Regions from separate parts of the Homo sapiens genome. Here region 1 is linked to region 2. Evidence: promoter capture Hi-C in human tissues and cell types (Jung and others, 2019). All regions are on one chromosome and are shown on one strand. The core of a region is centred on a gene start or on the middle of the fragment in contact, and the rest is flanking DNA. Distances in the headings are between cores, read along the strand shown. Region 1 has its middle 12 kb from the start of KCNN1. Region 2 holds the start of PLVAP (plasmalemma vesicle associated protein).

Region 1 (2,700 bases), core at 106-2,605, 580 kb after region 2:
AGGGCGAGGCAAGCTCAGGAGTTCGAGACCAGCCTGGGCAACGTACTGAAACCCTGTCTCTACAAAAAATTAAAAAAATTAGCCAGGTGTAGTGGTGCACACTTGTAGTCCAAGCTACTTGGGGGCCGAAGGTGGGAGGATCGCTTGAGCCCGGGAAGTCAAGGCTGCAGTGAGCCATGTTCATGCGACTGCACTCCAGCCTGGGTGACAAAATGTCACCTCCCTGAATGTCACCCACCTAGATCTCCCCATGGCGAAGGAACTAGGGGCAATGTGAGGGGGTGAGCAGGAACAGCATTGGGAAAGACAGATAAAGCATTCAGTGTCTAGCTTCTGGAGCCCAGTGAAAGGAGGAGTGGCCTTAGGGAGGGGACATGGAAGAGGTGGGGCTAGCCCAGGGCCCCATTGGAGTGATAAAGCCACTGTTCTTAAGCTTCCTGAAAGCTTAGGAGATGACCCAGCTCAGCAACACCAAGCCAGAGCGCAGATCTGCTGTAAAGACCATTGTACGTAATAGGCTGAAGCAGGTGAATCACCTCTGGCCAGGAGTTCAAGTCCAGCCTGGCCAACACAGCAAAACCCCATCTCTACTAAAAATACAAAAAGTAGCCGGGCATGGTGGCAGGCACCTGTAATCCCAGATGCTTGGGAGGCTGAGGCAGGAGAATTGTTTGAACCCTGGAGGCGGCAGTTGCAGTGAGCTGAGATCACATCACTACACTCCAGCCTGGGTGACAGAGCAAGACTCTGTCTCAAAAAAATAAAAAATAAGAAAGACCACTGTAGTCCGGGAGCTGTCTGCACCCTACTCTTTTGGGTCCCCGCCTCCACCCCGCACCCCCTGTCTGATCATTACAGATCTCAAAGGGACAGGAAAGGCAGCAGCAGCCACCCTCTCTCCCAGTCAAGTGGTCACCAGCAGGACTGAAGGGGACAGCCCCTTTGCAGTGGCTCGGCGAGGAGACCCCTGCACCCTAGGGTGAGTGAATCCCAGACTTGGGTCGCCTTTGGGGGTGGGGGTGGCTCAGGGGTTGGATAGAAAAATTGGTAACTGGGCAGGCTAGGTGGCTCACGCCTGTAATCCCAGCACTTTGGGAGGCTGAGGCAGGTGGATCACTTGAGGTCAGGAGTTTGAGGCCAGTTTGGCCGACATGGCGAAACCCCGTGTCTACTAAAAATACAAAAATTGCCCGGGGATGGTGGTGGGCACCTGCAATCCTAGCTACTTGGGAGGCTGAGGCAGGAGGACCACTTGAATCCGGGAGGCAGAGGTTGCAGTGAGCCAAGATCGCGCCACTGCACTCCAGCCTGGGCGACAGAGCAAAGCTCTGTTTCAAAAAAAAAAAAAAAAAGGTGACCTGAGGAAAAAGTGCCAGCTTTTGAAATAATAACAAGCTGGGTACAGTGGCGTGCACCTGTGGTCCTAGCTACTCGGAAGGCTAAGGTGGGAGTATCGAGTCCAGGAGTTCGAGGCTGCAGTGAGCTATGATCACGCTTGTGAATGGCCACTGCACTCCAGCCTAGGCGACAGAGCGAGACCCCCATCTCTTTAATTAAAAAAAAAAAAAAGAAAAAAGGCCAGACGTGGTGGCTTACGCTTGTAATCCCAGCACTTTGGGAGGCCAAGGCAGGCAGATCACCTGAGGTCAGGAGTTCGAGACCAGCCTGGCCAACAGGGTGAAACCCCCATCTCTACTAAAAATACAAAATTAGCCAGGCATGGTGCTGCATGCCTGTAATCCCAGCTACTTGGGAGGCTAAGGCAGGAGAATCACTTGAACCCAGGAGGCGGAAGTTGCAGTGAGCCGAGATTGTGCCATTGCACTCCAGCCTGGGCAACAAGAGTGAAACTCCATCTCCAAAAAAAAAAAAAAAAAGAAAGAAAGAAAAAAAATAATAATATAATTATTATTATATCATATATATCATGATGATGATAGCAAGGACTATGCTTTCTAGAGCCTCCGGGGAGTTACTGTCCACTTTCTTTGATCACTGGAGTTGGGGAAACTATTCAGAGAGGCCAGATGACCTAGAAGTGGGGTGTTGAGCCAGGTTGGAAGAGCTCTGTCCCACCACTCCCGCCCCCGCCCCCCACACACAGCCTCTACTTCCCGGCTCTCGTGGTCTCGCTGGAGACAGCCCCCAGGGTAGGCCAGCTCTGTGGAAGGCAGCTCCTGTGCTCCTTTCTCCAGTGAACTTTTTTTTTTTAGTTTTGTTTTGTTTTGTTTTGTTTGTTTGTTTTGAGACAGAGTCTGACTCTGTCGCCCAGGCTGGAGCGCAGTGGCATGATCTTGGCTCACTGCAACCTCCACCCTCCACCCCACCGGGTTCAAGCGATTCTCCTGCTTCAGCCTCCCAAGTAGCTGGGATTACAGGCATGCGTCACCACGCACAGCTAATTTTTGTGTTTTCAGTAGAGATGGGGTTTCCCCATGTTGGCCGGGCTGGTCTCGAACTCCTGACCTCAGGTGATCCACCTGTCTTGGCCTCCCAAAGTGCTGGGATTGCAGGCGTGAGCCACTGAGCCAGGCCTCCTTGGTGAACACTGACTGACATCCAGGGTCAGCACTAAGCTGCCCATGGGGGTGTGGAGAAAACAGAGGTGGTGGTCATTTAGTCAATCAACAAACACTGAGCAAGCTAGCTACTGTCTGCCAGGCCCTAGGCTGGATGCTGGGATGCAATAAGGACAAAGGC
Region 2 (2,700 bases), core at 117-2,616:
TTCAAGACCAGCCTGATCAACATAGCGAGACCCCACGTCTACTAAAAATAAAAAATGACCTGGGCATAGTGGCATGTCCATAGTGCCAGCTACTCAAAAGGCTGAGGCAGGAGGATTGCTGGAGCCCAGGATGTCAAGGCTTCAGTGAGCTATGCTCACATCACTGTGCTCCAGCCTGGGTGACAGAGTGAGACCCTGCCTCCAAAAAAAAGAAAAGAAATAAAAAAAATTTAGCTGGACGCAGTGCCCCACACCTGTAATCCCAGCAGTTTGGGAGGCTGGGGTGAGAGGATTGCTTGAGCCCAGGAGTTCGAGACTAGCCTGGGCAACATAGTGAGACCTCATCTCTGCTAAATATAAACATATTAGCTGGGTGTGGTGGTGCACGCCTGTAGTCCCAGCTACTCAGGAGGCTGAGGCAAGAGGATCACTTGAGTCCAGGAGATTGAGGTTGCAGTGAGCTGTGATAGCAATTGCACTCCATCCAGCCCAGGATACACATGGAGACCCTGTCTCTTAAGGAAAAAAAAAAAATCTATCGGCCGGGTGCAGTGGCTCACGCTTGTAATCCCAACAATTTGGGAGGCCAAGGCAGGCGTATCACTTGAGGTCAGGAGTTTGAGACCAGCCTGGCCAACATGGTGAAACCCCATCTCTACTAAAAATACAAAAATGAGCCGGTTATGATGGCACATGCCTGTAATCCCAGCTACTCGGGAGGCTGAGGCAGGAGAATCACTCCAACCCAGGAGGCAGAGGTTGCAGTGAGCCGAGATTGCACCACTGCACTCCAGCCTGGGAGACGGAGCGAGACTCTGTCTCATAAGAAAAGAGAGCATTGGTCCTGTGATCGTCCCCCTCTCTTGGATGAGGAAACTCAGGCTCAGAGAGGTGAGGGGGCTTGCTCAGGGTCCCCAGGGCGAGTGTCCTGCCCACAGCCTTACCCGGTCACCCTGGCACTGGCGGAAGCTGGCATTGATGCGGTCCAGGTCGCGGCGAGCATTCAGCCACATCTGCATGATGGCATCCTTGGCGCGGGTGGTGAAGTTGAGCTCCTTGGTCAAGTTGGACTGGGAGGCCGTGAGCCCTAGGAGCTGACTGTATAGGCCCTCGGCTCGGCGCTCGGTGGCCTGCAGGTTGGACTCTGTGCTCACGTGCACGTTGCCATAGACCATGAAGAGCACGAGCCCCAGGATGATGAGGAATTGGATGAGGGAGACGAAGAGGAAGAAGTAGCGCAGGTAATACCAGCAGCCCCGAGAGCTGCCCCCCGCCCGAGCGTAGGACCCTCCGTGCTCCATGGCCAGACCCATTTGCTCGATCCCGCCGTCCGGTGCACCGTCCCTGCTCACCACCAGGCCTGCTCTGGCCCCCGCCTCGCAGGGGGGAGTGCTTATATTACTCCTCTTAATACTTCCTCTGCCTGGCTCCTTCCTGGCCCGGAGGAAACGGGGGCTGCGGGTTATCACAACACTCCCACTCTGGCTGTGAGAAGGCGGGGGTGGGGCTGGGGGCCCAGAGCCAGGGCACCGGCTGGACCCCTCTGATTAATGCTGGGTGGGGCGCTGGCTGGCTGGTCAGGCATTCCTGGCCTCTTCGAGCCTCGCGTTCGCCTTTACTTGCTGGCGGGTGCTGTTCTCAGTACCTGCTGTGATTAGGTCGCTGAATCATGCCAGGTCTGTTGCTGTCTCCCTTGTGTGGCGGAGGAAACTGAGGCACAGGGAGGAGAAGGGGTTGCCTCGGGGTCTCACGCTGTTAGTTCAGCGAACTTGACTTACCTCAAGACAGGCTGGCTACAGACGTGCACCCACTTCACCAGGGCGGTGCTGATTAAGTGCCACAAAACGTGGGAAATGTGCCAGGCACGGTGGCTCACGCCTATAATCCCAGCACTTTGGGAGGCTGAGGCGGACGGATCACCTGAGGTCAGAAGTTTGAGACCAACCCGGTCACCGTGGTGAAACCCCCCGTCTCTACTAAAAATACAAAACTTAGCCAGGTGTGGTGGTGCTCGCCTGTAATTCCAGCTACCCAGGAGGCTGAGGCAGGAGAATCGCTTGAACCCAGGAGTCGGAGGTTGCGGTGAGCAGAGATCGTGCCATTGCACTCCAGCCTGGGGTATAGAGCAAGACTCTGTTTCAAAAAAAAAAAAAAACAGAAAAAGTGTGAAACTCTTAGCTAGCCTAGGGATGGAGAAGCAGTAGGTGATTAGTAATTGCATAGGAGGGCGTCACGGAGGGCTGAGCCATGGATGGCGGTGGCGCTGGCTCCCCAAGCTCTGTCATTGCCCCCAGTGCCCTGTTCACTTAGATGCTCAGTAAATGCTCCAGGAAACTGCAGCACAAGGAATAATGAACTTGGAGCGGGGAAGAGCTGGCTTTGTCCCGGGAGAGCTCGGGCAAGAGGCCTCGCATGTCTGTGCCTCCCTTTTCCCCTTTGTGAGACGGGGTATACCCAGTGCCTCGTCACTCTGTGGCTGTTGTTATGATTAGGATCATTTCCTGCTGGAGGCACTGCTGGGGGCTCCGTGAGATGGTGAATGACAAGTGGTGGATACGTGGGACTGAGATTCCTCCCCCGACACTCAAAACCCCATGGGCGGCCGGGCATAGTGGCTCACACCTGTAATCTCAGCACTTTGTGAGGCTGAGGCAGGCGGATCACCTGAGGTCAGGAGTGCGAGACCAGCCTGGCCAATAT

Evidence for each region. Contacts are between HindIII fragments. The study calls those that stand out against the background at their distance.
Region 1: a fragment that was not itself captured here is called in contact with the fragment with the promoter of PLVAP in region 2 in 1 of the 25 tissues and cell types used here (dorsolateral prefrontal cortex).

The regions. Positions count from the first base shown.
Region 1 is chr19:17,953,703-17,956,402 of GRCh38, forward strand. It overlaps a transcript of KCNN1 not described here. Among named protein-coding and RNA genes, the nearest start is that of KCNN1, 12 kb to the right of the region's middle. The HindIII fragment of the contact is 4,437 bases long and covers 1-2,700 here.
Region 2 is chr19:17,375,976-17,378,675 of GRCh38, forward strand. PLVAP (plasmalemma vesicle associated protein) reads right to left here and starts at 1,367. Exons shown (of 6, transcript NM_031310.3): 1 at 945-1,367. The coding sequence starts at 1,313. The HindIII fragment of the contact is 34,336 bases long and covers 1-2,700 here.